Linked DNA regions of Homo sapiens: region 2 is linked to region 1. Evidence: promoter capture Hi-C in 16 types of primary human blood cells and fetal thymus (Javierre and others, 2016). All regions are on one chromosome and are shown on one strand. Each heading gives the region's core, a stretch centred on a gene start or on the middle of the fragment in contact. The rest is flanking DNA. Distances are from core to core; before and after follow the strand shown.

Evidence for each region. The method cuts DNA at HindIII sites, captures the fragments that hold promoters and counts their contacts. A CHiCAGO score of 5 or more calls a contact.
Region 2: a fragment that was not itself captured here is called in contact with the fragment with the promoter of FBXO40 in region 1 in 1 of 17 cell types (naive B cells); the score reaches 5.7 in naive B cells.

The regions. Positions count from the first base shown.
Region 1 is chr3:121,590,574-121,598,068 of GRCh38, forward strand. It overlaps FBXO40 (F-box protein 40), which reads left to right and starts at 2,806. Exons shown (of 4, transcript NM_016298.4): 1 at 2,806-2,929. ARGFX (arginine-fifty homeobox) reads left to right here. Exons shown (of 5, transcript NM_001012659.2): 5 at 1-49. It overlaps LOC124906360 (small nucleolar RNA U13), which reads left to right and starts at 721; the gene lies at 721-821. RefSeq lists enhancers at 2,163-3,362, 2,176-2,826, 2,827-3,478 and silencers at 2,749-3,043, 6,916-7,116. The HindIII fragment of the contact is 3,467 bases long and covers 786-4,252 here.
Region 2 is chr3:123,130,684-123,138,256 of GRCh38, forward strand. The region is part of intron 11 of PDIA5 (protein disulfide isomerase family A member 5); the gene reads left to right. Among named protein-coding and RNA genes, the nearest start is that of MIR7110, 27 kb to the right of the region's middle. The HindIII fragment of the contact is 6,364 bases long and covers 1-4,930 here.

The DNA of each region.
Region 1 (7,495 bases), core at 1,556-4,055:
GGAAGACTTCCCAGCCTTCAGAACTGTAAGAAATAAATCTCTCTTCATAAATTACCCAGTCTCAGGTATTCTGTTATAACAACACAAAAACAGACTGAGACAGAGTTATAACAAGCACAGAGATTGAGTTAACAATTGAAAACTTCCCACAAAGAAAAGCCCAGTCCCAGATGGCTTCACTGCTAAATTCTACCAAAATGTTTAAAGAAGAATTAACACCAATCCTTCATAAACTTTTCCAAAAAAAACAAAAGAGGAGGGAACTCATTTTATGAGATCGATATTATCTGGATACCAAAGCTGAACAAAGACGCCATAAGGGAACTACAGATTATAGTGAGTATCCCCTATTGGAAATGCTTGGAACCAGAAGCGTTTCAGATTTGGAGTTTTTGGAATATTTGCACATACATAATGAGATATCTTGGGGATGGGACACCAGCCTAAACACAACTCATTTATGTTTCATATACACCTTATATACATAGCCTGAAGGTAATTGCACAATATTTTAAGTAACTCTGTGGATGAAACAAAGTTTCGAGTGCGTTTTGACTATGACCCACCATATGAGGCCAAGTGTGGAACTTTCCTCTTGTGGTGTCACATCAGCACTCAAATAATTTTGGATTTTAAAGCATTTTGGAATTCAGATTTCAGATTGGGGATACTCAACCTGTAATACCTCTTCTGAATATAGACGCAAAAATCCTCAATAAGATCCTTTTGTAGTTCATGAATGTGATGATTGGGCATTCACGTGGATGTGTGAGTGCTACCCTCGAAGCTTGTTTCAACATTGGCACATTATGCATCTGACTTGAAAAAACAAATTCTCAATAAAATACTAACAAACTAAATTTAGCAACATATAAAAAGGATAGATACCATGACCAAGTAGGGTTTATTCAGGAATGGAAGATTGATTCAACATAAAAAAATTCATCAATGTAATACACGATATTAATAGAATAAAGGACAAAAACCACATGATCATCTTGCTGGGCACAGAAAAAGCATTTGATGAAGATCCACACTCTTTCTTGATTCACTCAACAAACTAGAACAAACTATCAAACTCCTCTCCTTCAACTTGATAAAGGCCATCTACAAAAATCCACAGGTAACATTGTACTTATTGGTGGAAGACTGAATGCTTCCCCCCTAAGATCAGGAACAAGTGAAGTGTGGCCACTCTCACCACTCTTGTTAAACATAGTGCTGGAAGTTCTAGGCAGGGAAAAACAGCAAGAAAAGGAAGTTAAAGGCATCCAAATCGCAAAGAAAGAAGTTAAAATATTTTTGTTAACAGATGGCATGGTCTTGAAAATCCTAAGGAATCCACAAGAAAACTATTAGAACTAATAAACCAGTTCAGCAAAGTTTCAAGATACAAGATCAGTGTAGAAATTTTTTACAATTTTCAACTGCTATTTGCTCATTCCAAATAAGTTTACCTCCAAGGACATATATGTATGAAGAATCCAGGGGAAAGGTTAATTCGATGGCTGTTAATCACAGCCAAATTTAGCACATCTGCTGTTAGTCAAAATACATTCAAATACATTCAAATAACAGCTGGCATTGTGGAGCACTTGGCATGTGGTACATATCATTCATGTGCCTTATGTGTACTGACACAGTTACCTGTGGTCGCACCAAGTATCATCGCCATTTCACAATGGGGAAAACTGAAATAGAAAATGGTTAAGTAAATTTGTCAAAATCACATACCTAATCCCAGCACTTTGGGAGGCTGAGGTGGGAGGATCATGAGGTCAGGATTTCGAGACCAGCGTGACAAACATGGTGAAACCCCGTCTCTGCTAAAAATACAAAAATTAGCCAGGTATGGTGGTACGTGCCTGTAATCCCAGATACTCAGGAGGCTGAGGCAGGAGAATCACTTGAAGCCAGGAGGTGGAGGTTGCAGTGAGCCGAGATCACGCCACTGCACTCTATCCTGGGCAACAGAGCGAGACTCTGTCTCAAAAAAAAAAAAAAGAAAAAGAAAACACCAAAGCCGGGATTCTATATTTTTTTCACTCACAAGATCCTGAATGAGTTTATCTGAAGATGATAAGATAAAGAACGCTAGACTGAGAGTTAAACAAGCTCTCTGGGGCTTTCCTCTGGCTCTTCCACTAACGAGATGTGTGACCTTGGATGAGCAATTTCCCTTTTCTGAATCTCTGTCTCCTCATCTGTAAAAAGAGGGAGCTGGACTAAATGACAGCTAAAGCCTCCTACAACCTCTAATTCTCTCACACTGGATTTACTCTACACCTGGTATCTGAATTACAAACTCTCCCTTTTCCAGGAAAGATGAAAGGACCAGGGGAGGACAGACACTTACTTGTCACGACAAGAGATAGGAGAAACTGAAGCAGGACACCATGTCATTTGCACAAGTTGCTGCTTCAGCCAGTGATGGGTTTAGGTGAGGAGCATGGTTATAATTAGAGCAGCAGCCAGTCCTGAAGGCTGTGCCAGCCTCCTTCAGCACAGCTGGGCCTGCCGACTGCACATGCAGGAATCTGAGAGGCTGTTCTGGCCTTGAAAATGATCCTTCTTAAAAGGATTTTCCTCCTTCCTCAAGGGAAAGAAAACCTATTGATATAAAACTTCACTTCCCATTCAGTTTCCCCTGCTAAATGCCACTCCAGTAGAGACTGAGTGTTGATAAATACAGGGGAAGGAAAAAGTCGTAAGCTGAGCCTGGTCACATTGCCCCTTGTGATATCGTTTTATTTTTAACTTCGCAACACTTGGACTATTTCTGTTGAAGTTTTCTCTCCTTTCCCTGCCTTCCCAACAGAACGCTGTCCTCTACTGCAGCTGATGCAACCCAGCCACCTCCCGGCAATCCGCTTACTTGCAATCAAGGGTTCAGGTGCAAGCAGATGCTGACTCAGCCTGTTCCATTAAGGTAAGTATTCAAACAGGAGCAGGTGCACCATGACGAGGACATTCAGTGGTGAATATGCAGATGAAGCTGAGCCGCATATCACTTTTGTGTCCTGTGGAAGAGGATTGTTAAGCAAATTAGTTATGTAAAGATGTGGGGGAAAGGCTGGCACTGAGAATGAGATCCAGCCGTGTGTAAATTTCTGTTTCCATTTCAAGAGCAGGTAGAGTACTTGCTTTCTGACAGCTTAGGTTCTTTCTTCTATAATCAACAAGAGTAGTTATGATATCTGTAAAGTTACAACATGGTGATGGGTGGGGGGATCTGGGGAAGTGGAGGAGGTGGTGAGGAAACAAGTGGAAGGCCTAGAATCCAGGATTTCTATTCCCTTTTCTTTCTTTTTTGAGACAGTCTTGCTCTGTCACCCAGGCTGGAGTGCAGTGGCACCATCTTGGCTCACTGCAGCCCCTACCTCCCAGGTTCTAGTGATTCTCCTGCCTCAGCCTTCCGAGTAGCTGAGACTACAGGCACATGCCACCACATCCGGCCAATTTTTGTATTTTTTTAGTAGAGACAGAGTTTCACCTTGATGGCTAGGCTGGTCTTGAACTCCTGGCCTCAAATGATCCGCCCACCTCAGCCTCCAAAAGCGCTGGGATTACAGGTCTGAGCCACTGTGCCTGGCCCAGAATTTCTATTATTTATTTATTTATTTAATTCATTGTTATTATTTTTTTGAGACAGAGTCTCACTCTGTTGCCCAGGCTGGAGTGCAGTGGTGCAGTCTCAGCTCACTGCAACCTCCACCTTCTAGGTTCAAGAGAGCCTCCTGCTTCAGCCTCCTGAGTAGCTGGGACTACAGGCCTGTGCCACCACGCCTGGCTAATTTTTGTATTTTTAGTAGAGATGGGGTTTCACCATGTTGGCCAGGCTGGTCTTGAACTCCTGGCCTCAAGTGATCCACCCGCTTCGGCCTCCCAAAGTGCTGAGAATACAAGCATGAGCCGCTGTGCCTGATCAGAATTTCTGTTTTCTAAAGTCTAAATGCTGTGATCTTTTCTCCAGTCAACATTTGCTATGTTTGCTTGCAAGTCATTCTCATGTAGCTTAAAATTTCGTCTGCTGTGTCATACTACTGGTTAATAAGCACAACTGTATTTTCTGTATATACTATTCAAACTCCGCAGAGTTTAACACCTTTTTTTCGCCAACAATATTCTCTAAGTGTGGCCCTCTTCTCCCCAGCTCTCTTGAGTCCAAAATGCATCCATGAAATATAAGTGAAATATTTCTCAAGTTGAAAAACTTATATAGGCTTATGCACCAAAACCAAAGATTGTTACAAGCTTGAACAATTTTGCATATTCAGAGGGATAAAAGTAAAATGACTAATGATACTTGAGGTATCAAAAGTTATAACTTTAGACAGATAGTTTCTCGCTTCTGGAATAACTGTATAGTGTTGCATGCACTAAAAATTGGCAAGGTAAGGGAGCAGTGTTTATTTTCTTGTTTTTCACTGGTTCAAAGTTCAGCTAAGGACATCCTGGGAAGTGGCCTATGCAGCAAAAGGGATTCTGTACACTCTGACCTTTGATGTGTACAGGCTAAAGCCACCGATGCCAAGTAAAAGGAGACCTAAACTAACTATTCAGATACCTTAACTCCTGGTTCCTTCCTGCCTGTCTCTGTAACCTCCATATGTACCCCAAGACTCTGCTATAGGTGTCTGGGTTATCATTATGCCTGTTTCCTGGGCACAAGCAAATTCACTGTGTATAATCACCTAACTTCATTTAATTTTTCCAGGGCCTCCACAGCACCAAGGTCTCCAAGGTGTATGCTGGGATGCTGTCCTGGTGAAACTAGGGTGTGTTGGCTTACAAGTAACCAAGCAGACAGATTGAGTCCCAGCTACCCCTAGATAATCCAGTTACTTTAGCACTATCTTGGCCAATGCAACTGTAATTTAATAGAATAGTACTGATACAAAAGCACCAGATATAAGAATTAACTAGCTAATTCAATAACTAATAAGTATAAAGTTAGAGAGATTTCTAGTATAGGTGGAAAACTTCAGATTGTGAAGTGGAATGGATCTGGGAGAGGGTGGTTCTGTTTTAGGATACAGTGAAGGTACTGGAATCGCAGCGTCGAAGCCAAGGATTATGGAACCCAATGTGGGAATTAGCCTCAGCAAAGTGATTGTGTTAAAATCTCAAGAAGGCAAAGAGATTACTTTAATAATTATCTTTATACATTTTCTTTCCCTACAATTAAATATTTCCATAGCAGGGAAACAGGTCAACAATGCATAATTAAAGTAACTAATTAATTGGCTGGTTAACAGGTTAAGAGTTAAAAAATCTTTGACCTTTAACTTTTAACCTTGTCACTTTCACTGAAGTTAAAGCTCAGAAATAAATCATTATTGCCAGCGCCAGCCACATGAGGAGGCAGAATAGTTTAGTTACTGACATCATGTGAGGGGTGCTGAGAGGGCCCCTTGCCTAAAAATATCTCCCTGACATCAACCCTGTTTGCCTACTAACTTTAAAATTATAGAAAAGAATGTTAAAACTATTGTTTGTTAATCCCATTCTCTTTTGCTTGAGTCAGTGATTTAAATACACCTGCTATACGTGTTAGCATGACTTTGTTGACCAGCAACACTTGGTCACCACCTCCTCCTCCTTCTTCCACGCTTTGTCCTACTCTGCCCTTGGTACCATCTAAGCTGCCAACATGCCTTGGCTGTCACCACTCAGGTAGCTTTGTGTGGTGCTGTGATTTCTACAGACTCTTTCAATAAAACATCAAAGCACAATAGAAAAAAAGCACGTGACTAGAGCCAGAGACTCTGGGAGCATAGGCAAGACATTTCACTTCTCAGAGCCTCAGTTTCTCCTCTAGGAAACAAGGAGGTTAAAACAGACCCTTTCCTTTCAAAATGAGGTCCTTAGACCATCAGCTTCATCTGGATTTTGTTACAAGGAAAGAGTCTCAGGCCTCACCCTGGTCCCACTGGATCAGAATCTGCATTTTAAAAAGTTTGCCCGGGTGATTCCTTTGCATGTTGAAGTTTGAGAAGCTATGGAATATGGATTTCTTAATATCTGCCTGATCCAGATTTCGGATTCTGTGCCTGTCAAGTGTTTAAAAGAACAAGTACTTTAATCCCCTGCAAACAATCTGGCAGTGCTCAGATTATCTATTATAAATCCAGCCCACTGAGGTCTTTTCTTCAATGAGGCCTACATTAACCTAAGTTGAAATGATTTCCTTTTCACCTTAAAAAAAAAAGCAGCCCCAATTAGCATACATCTGACACCACTCTACTTTCTTCCTAAATTTGTTTCAAATTACTCTCGCAGCTTTTAAAATGCTGCCTTTTTAAGGGTTCAGTTTAATTCAGTTCAATCCTATTCAATGTTCTCGTTGACTGAGTGCTGGGGGCAGTGTTTGCTCTACTCACTCTCAGTCCCTAGAAGCCCATTTGGTGGGTCCTTAAGAAGTATTATCACCCTCTGTTGATATTCCGGTCAGACCTCCTTCCACTGCCTGCACACACCTCGCTGGCGACAACACTTGTGCCCATCATTGGAACCTCTCTCACCATTCTCACCATCACAGCAACTTTGCCAGGTTCTGCCAACTGCCACAGCCAATCACAAGAGAGAAGGCAAGTCTCAAGGACCACACTTTCCTTTTTTCTTGATGAGCAGAATAATGCAGATGAGCAAAAAAATTTACAAATTTTGGCCTAGGAAACAAAGATGCCTTCAAGTTGTCTTTATGGCATCTACAAAGTTTCAGTCCTAAAGCAGTACTATTTGAATTCCTAAGTGCTTAAGGAATGGCTCGTGGTGATTAAAGGGGGCCGAAAGTGGGGGGAAGTGTGGAGGCTTACATTCTTAAAAGAGTGAGGAAATAATTTTTAAAAAATAGAATTTGAATATCATCAAACTGACAGTGGAATATAAGATACATTGGAGTGAGGGGGACTGAAAATGGAAAGACCAGACATGGCTACAGGAGGGCAGTGGGAACACATGAAGGCCTGGAGGAGGGAGGTGACCATGAGAATGACCTTCCTCATAGAGTGACTCATCTATTACACACTCCCTATTTCATCTCATTGGATCCTTGTGCAACCCTATTGGTTATTATAGGCCCCCTTTTTTTTTTTTTTTTTTTTGAGACAGAATTTCACTCTGTTGCCCAGGCTGGAGTGCAGTGGCATGATCTTGGCTCACCACAACCTCTGCCTCCCAGGTTCAAGTGGTTCTTGAGCCTCAGTCTCCCGAGCGTCTGGGATTACAGGTGCCTGACACCACACCCGGCTACTTTTTTGTATTTTTAGTAGAGACAGGGTTTCTCCATGTTGGCCAGGCTGGTGTCAAACTCCTGACCTCAAGTGATCCACCTGCCTTGGCCTCCCAAAGTGCTGGGATTACAGGTGTCAGCCACCGTGCCCTGCTTATAAGTCCTACTTTTGAATTAATAAATTAGCTTTAGGTAGATTAACTTGTCAAAAATCACTCAGCTTATTCATGGGAGTGCTCATTGATTTACTTTATATTGGGG
Region 2 (7,573 bases), core at 499-2,998, 1.5 Mb after region 1:
TTGCAATGTGAACCCAGGAAGCACTTATTTTTTGGATGCCAGGACCCATGCTAAGCCAGGGGATGCAGTGGTGACAGGCGAGGTCCCCACCCTCGTAGTGCACATGGCCTACCCCCCATTGCCATGGAAACAACACAGAAGTCCTGATCAGGCTTTACTTGTCCCTTAGCTAGAGCTCAGTGAGTCTCCACCACCCCTAGCTCTGAGCATCTTCCTCCCAGTCAGCATGAATTGGAGAAATTAAGCTGGAAGCACCCTGAGATGTTACCTAGAACAGACTGGGCCTGGAAATAAAATTAGGGCTGATACCTCATATGGGGGCTCATACCTATAATCCCAGCACTTTGGGAGGTCAAGGCAGGAGGATTGTTTAAGGCCAGGAGTTCAAGACCAGCCTGGGCCACATAGCAAGACCCCATCTCTACAAACAATTAAAAATTAGCTGGGCATGTGGTGCACACTTGTAGTCCCAGCTACTCAGGAGGCTGAGGTGGGAGGATTGCTTGAGCCTGGGAGGTTGAGGCTGCAGTGAACTGTGATTGTGCCACTGCACTCCAGCCTGAGTAACCAAACAAGACCCTGTCTCATTAGCCGGGCGTGGTGGCGTGCACCTATAATCCCAGTTACTTGGGAGGCTGAGGCAGGAGAATCGCTTGAACCTGGGAGGTAGAGGTTATAGTAAGCCAAGATTGTGCCACTGCACTCCCTCCTGGGCAGCAGAGCGAGGCTCCATCTCAAAAAAAAAGACCCTGTCTCTAAAAACAATTTTTTAATTTAAAAAAAAAAGATATTATCTAGGGCAGTAGTCACCTCTTACCTTACAAGTGGTCGCGGGCTGAGGCCCCAGGAGAGCCTGTGCTTGCCCAGGAGCTGAGAGGGCATGGGGAGGCCAGGCTGGAGCTGCAGATCATCCAGCATCTAGAATGCCTTCTGTCTGCTTCACCTCATTGCATTCTCATTCTGAAATGACCACAGTGAATCAAGGAAGTAAAATCCTGTAAATGCTATCAAACGTGCTTGCGATAAGGGCTGGAAGGCCTGTGGCCCAGGAGTTTTCTGGAGCAGTGTCTTCCTACTCCCATGGAGAGTGGAAAATTGACCATAGGTGGTTTCCAAGAGGGACAAGGCTGCCCCTGGGAAGGCAGACAAGGCCGCGTGAGAGCCAGGGGATGGCAGGTGTGGGCACAGAGTGTTGTGAGTAAGAGATTGTGGAGGAAAAGCAAGAGGTCAGTGCCTCATGGAGCAGGGCTGAAATCGTGAGGTCACAGTGCATGAGGATGGTTAGTCCATAGAGGCATATTCTATCAGGAGGAAATGTTATTACTCCTCTTAATCATAGGGTCCTCATGCCAACAGTTGTGTGTCACCCTACAGTGGTAACACATTGTCTTCCTGAAGGGTCATCTTTTGTTTTACCCAGCGTGCCACAAAGTGAGTACAATTAGCCCCATTTTACAGATGAGACCGTCACACAGAGAAATGACATAGACCACCCACGGCTCCGTGAGTCCTGAGCTGCTTCAGGCCTCAAGAGCCTTAGGTTCCAGGAAGAACAGGGTCAGAGCCTGAGCCCCAGTCTCCTGGCCGCCTCCCCTTCCCCCACAGTATCCATGAGTTTGGCTAGCCTGGGAATTGCTCATAAACATACTCTTACCATGGATTTTCCTAACTCATTATTTCTTACAAGTGCTAAATTCTTAGGAGACTCTAAAGGAATAGCTCTAAAGGACTCTAAAGGAATAGCTCTAAAGGAATAGTTTCCTATAGCTCTTCTGAGTTCCTAGAAAAGAGACCAAAACAAGCCCCCAAAACTAAGTTTCAAAAACCCTCTAGTCTTGTGGGCCTCTCCTGATGAAGCGCAATGAAGGGCGTCTGCCTCAGGTCTGCTAGGGCCTTGGTGAGGGCATCCCCGAGGGTAAAGGTACTCAAAAAAGTGCCCGCCATGAGGCCAGCCAGGTAGCACTGCAGTGCTCTTCCTAGCTATAAAATACACTCCCTGGCCAGCCTCAGAGCTGCTGCTGGAAGCGAGTCTTGCAGGAATTGATGTTGAATCTAGAGCCGAAATCACCATCCTTGCACCCCTGTCCCAGCCGTGACAGCAGATACTGGCTGGCTGTTTCCAGTTCCTCCTTGGGAACCTCCAGGGTCTTCATCCCCATGTGTCTGTCCTTCCAGTTAGGGTTGGGAGAGGTCACCAGTCCCCTGGGCATTCATGGTTGTGCGCATGTGGGTTTATTTCTGCTGGGCTGGCAGAGTGAGAGGGATCAGGGCAAAAGCATGTGGTTAGCTTCCTGATATACTGCCCGTCAATGTTCCTGTCGGATGGTAATAGCTCTGGATTAATTCCCTTTCTACACACTTCTTCATTAAGAGCATGGTCTTTAGCCTAGGGAGGGATGGAATGTACATGCTTTAGGGAGTTTGGAGCTCAGGACAGGTGAACTGAGAGCAGAGAGCTCATAGCTGCCTGGCTTTGTATCTCATGCCAGAGTGCTTCTGAGAATCCCCAGTGATCAAGAAACCACTTTTGCAGTGTTTGAGGGACCTGGAGTAAAGGACAAATGTCAAGAGGCCAGAGACCAGCAGTGTCATCCTGCGTTTCCTAAGTGCAGAAAGGGTGAATTCTGGAAATCACAGTGTTCCAGGTGTCAGTCCCAGGCCAAATACGGAGTGATTTGGAGACAGACCATTTTAGAGACTCACAGAAACAAATTGGGATCCATCAACATAGCAGACCACAGCTTCTACTCCAGATCGCTGAATGCGCCGCTTGGTTTGTTTCTTGGGATAGGATTGCTGAGCTTGATGAATTAGCGTGTCTTTCTTTTATCAAGACATTTGACAAAATGAGTTGCTGTTTTCCTCACTGTGATGGGGAGAATCAGACAGGATGGAGCTACCCTGAGGGGAAGCATCCCCTGGATACATTGTGACTGTGAATCTGGCCTGAGTCTGTCTAGAGGGTATGTACTTGTTTTTAATCAGCAACTTTGTTAATGCTATAAAAAGGCATACTTTCACATTTGGCAGGGTTAGCCTTGGGAAAAGGCTGACCAGCTGAAATGTCAGACCATGCATTGACATTTTGAAGTACCCCAACAAACCGAAATAGTGGGGCTCAAACTAAAAAGCTGATTTATTTTTTATGACTCTATGCTAATTATAAAAGTAATACATGTACATTTTATCAAGGGATAATATAGGAAAGTATAGAGAAGAAAATTAAAATGCTTCCTGATACTGATTCCCAGAGAAAACCTGGTCTTTCTTTGCAGTGTTGTTTGTTTTCTTTTCTTTTCTTTTCCTTTTCTTTTCTTTTCCTTTTCTTTTCTTTTCCTTTTCTTTTCTTTCTTTTTTTGACATAGAGTTTTGCTCTGTCACTCAGGCTGGAGTGCAGTGGCACAAACACAGCTCACTGCAGCCTCGACCTCCTGGACCCAAGTGATCCTCCCACCTCAGCCTCCTGTGTAGTTGGGACTACAGGTGCACACCGCCACACCTGGCTAATTTTTAAATTTTTTGTAAAGACGGGGTCTCACTTTGTTGCCCAGGCTGGTCTGCTTTGTTGCTTCTATGCCTGTAGTAAGTACCCAGTCAATGTTAGTTTCTTTCCCGGTCCTGCTTAGAAAGGCCAGGAAGGGAAAGGGTCTTCAGCTTTCCTCTGACCTGTGCCACCCCAGGGGGGTGCTCTCTGGCACCTGTGGGTTCCAGAGGCAAGGCACTTGCTTCTCTGCCTGGAACTGATGGGATGCTTGTGAGGCTGCCCTGCTGGGCTCTCAGCAGGAAAGGCACACGGCACCCCTCCCCGTTCTGTGTTACCCATCACCGTAAGTGATGACTGACCTGGAGACACCATGGGCCCTGCTCCTTTACCCTCTTCCCAGCACTCCTGCCACTCACTTCCCACCTCATCTGCCCCCATCTCCCCATTGTCTTTCTTCCCTCTCTCTCCCAGCAAGAGCCCATTAGAAACCCTCCACAGATACTTCAGTGGCCTCTCCAACTGATGCCTAAGTTGTCACTAAATAAATGAGCCCAGGGCAGCCACGGTGCTAGGCCCTTCATATGGGCGATCTCTATTCTGCCACAGGCCACACTGAGATTTACAGCCAGGTTTGCCCCACAGCCCTGTCCCCCAGGAGCTGGGCCGGGCCTCCTGGGCAGGACAGGCCGAGTGTGAGCAGAGGGCTCTGAGAGGGGTGTGTCTGTGGTGCTGCCTGGACCCAAGGCCAGGAGCCGCCTCTCTTGCTAGCACTTGGCTTCCCGTTTGTAGCAAGGCTTCGTGCCTGACCTCCCTCTGGTCCTCACAGTGGGGCCTCACATGCAGCCCCAGGCCCGGTTTTCCCACCCTGCAGGCGACGGAGATGCTCTCTGCAAATGGTGTGTCAGGAGGACAGTGGCTGCTGCCACCCGTGGCACCTTTTTGTTTGTGTTTTTCTGCGGCGTTCCATATGAGAGAAGTCAGAGTGTGTGTGGCCACTCATCTCCTCTTGTCACTGTTTTTTGTCCCTCTCTAGTAACTTCAGGTCTGCATTAGCAGGGGAAGGACAAGCTGCTGTGGCACTACCTGAGTAGACATCATTTATATGGGGATGTTCAGGGGAGCAAGGGGGGCATCCCAGAGAGGGGTGTTCCTGAGCAGCTCGTCTCTCCTAGGCCTGTGGACACCCATGCAGGTTCTGGGGATCCTGAGGACCCCCTGCTCTTCCTCTCCCCTGTGCTACAGGGCTTCTTGGGGGCCACGTGGCTCTACCCTTGCCTACCCCCTGACTCATCGACCCATTTTCCTTAGCAACAGGTCTGAGATGGGATGTTTTCTTTGCCATATCTTGCCTCCAGCATGTATCTGCACTGCCTTCCAGGAGCCGGGCTGTTTCTGGCAGCAGGTCCCCATCAGACTCAAGATTTTCTGCTGTCATCTTTTTTTTTAAGCTTTTAACTGTATTTTTGTCTTATTCTCAAAGCAATATATAACCTTTGTAGAAAATCTAGAAGGTATAGTAAAATATAGGTGATTAAGGAAAGAAACTACCTATAATCCCCATTATCCAGAGGTAACAACTTTTTTTTTTTTTTTTTTTTTTTACTTTTTGGCATCATTCTTGCTAGTCTTTTTCATTTTTTTGGTCTTATTTTTAACTTTTATTTTTTAAAAGAGGATACCATAAAATCGACCTTTTTTTTTTTTTTAATCACATGTATAGATTTGTGTAACTATCATGCCACGAAGGGCCTTCATGCTGTCATTTTATTTTATTCATTTATTTATTTCTGTTTTTTTTCTTTTCTTTTTTTAGAGACAGGGTCTCACTATGTTGCTCAGGCTGGCCTCAAACTCCTGGGCTTAAATGATCCTTCCACTTCAGCCTCCTGAGTAGCTGGGACTACAGGCACGGGCCACCACACCTGGCTAATTTTTTGGATTTCTTTTTGTAGAAATGGAGTCTCCCTATGTTGCTCAGGCTGGTCTTGAACTCCTGGGCTCAAGTGATTCTCCTGCCTCGGCCTCCCAAGCAGCTGGGATTATAGGCATGAGCCACTGCACTTGGCCACTTGTATTTTCTAATTGCACAAATAATTTAAGAATAATATTAACAGCATTCTTGTTATCAGCAGTGCAAGGTTCAAGGGATACATAAGAATATAGTGCAGACAGTGAAAATCCCTCACTCTCCACGCCGTGCCCCTTCTCAGGGCTGGTCACCACTCACAGTAGAGGATGGATCCTTCCTTCTCCTTCCGCAGTGCTTCTACCTAAACAACAGGGGGTTGGTTGGCTGGGCATGGTGGCTCACGCCTGTAATCCCAGCACTTTGGGAGGCCAAGGCGGGTGGATCATGAGGTCAGAAGTTCGAGACCAGCCTGGCCAAGATGGTGAAACTCTGTCTCTACTAAAAATACAAAAATTAGCAGAGCATGGTGGTGCACGCCTGTAGTCCCAGCTACTTGGGAGGCTGAGGCAAGAGAATTGCTTGAACCCGGGAGGCAGAGGTTGCAGTGAGCCGAGATCATGCCATTGCACTCCAGCCTGGGTGACAAGACAAAAAAAAAAAAAAAAAAAAAAAAGGGGGTTGGGTTTTTTGTTTTTGTTTTTTAACATAAGTAGGACTACTTCCTATCCATTCTTCTGTGATTTGCTTTTTTTAACTTGTCAATAGGTCTCGAAGATATTTTCATGTAAATGTAGATATTGGCACATAAATCTACCTCAATCTTTTTAACCATTGAATAGTATTTTATAATTTGGATATGCCAGAAATTTTAAACCATTCCCCTACTGATAGGTATTGTATTTATCTCCAGTTTTTCACTATTCAAACAATACAGTGAGCATTGGTAAACATATATAATTGGGAAAATGTGTAAATATTTTTGATTAATTCCTAAAAGTGAATTTCCTTGGCCCTGGGGTAAGTAAGCTTGAGCTTTGGCAGATGCTACCAAATTGCCCTACAGAAAGGTTTTCCCAAACCCAGCGGGTGACAGAGCCTTTGTCCTTGCAGCCATGGATACTATCTGCCTTTTATATTTCTGCTAAGCTCGGCAAAACAGCAACTTGTCTGCAGCTATCTGACCTCTAGGGAAGCTGGACATCTTTTCATGTGATAATCAGCTTTTCATGTTTCTTCCATGGACCACCTATTCATACACTTTGCTCATTTTTCTGCTAGGTCTTTTTATTTATTTGTCTTTTTATTCTTGACCTAGAACTCTACAATTATAGATATTAATCTTTATCTGTTTTCTGTGTTTTCCATGTTCCATTAGTCTATTTCTTGCTCTAATTTTGTTTATGGTGCCTTTCATTGTACAAAGCTTTACATCCTTTGTAGCTGAGTAATAGCTATTATATTTATTGGTCACTGATCACACTTACTATGGATCAGGCGTTGTTCTAGGTACTTTCCATATTTTAACAGATTTAGTCTTCATAAAAAATTCGTGAATTTGATGTCATGATTAATTATTCTCATTTTATAAGTAAGGACGGGGAGACACCAAGAGGTCAAGAAACGTGCCAAAGGTCACATAGCCAAAAAGTGCAGCCAGGATGAAATCCCAGGCTGTCCCAGAGGCCACAGCCTAACCACTGAGCCATTCTGCAAGTCTGCCTTCTCCCATCCTGACCTCTGGGATTTGTGGGTTGTTTAGGAAATTCTCCCTTAGGATATTAAAATAGTGCCCTATATTTTGTTATAATGTTTTTATTTTTTAATTTCTTTCTTTAATTCATCTCTATTTTTCATTTGTCTATTGTGCCAGGTGGGAGGAAGGGATTTGAGACAGGGTCTCACTCTGTCACCCAGGCTGGAATGCAGTGGCATAATCATAGCTCACTGCAATTTCAAACTCCTGGGTTCAAGTGATCCTCCTGCCTCAGCCTCCTAAGTAGCTAGTACTACAGGCACACACTACCACGCCTGGCTAATTTTTTAAATTTTTATAGCAGTGGAGTCTCACTATGTTGCCCAAGCTGGTCTCAAACTCCTGACCTCAAGCAATCTTCCTGCCTTGACCTCCCAAAGTTCTAGGATTATAAGCATGAGCCACTGCATCTGGCCCTAATTTTATT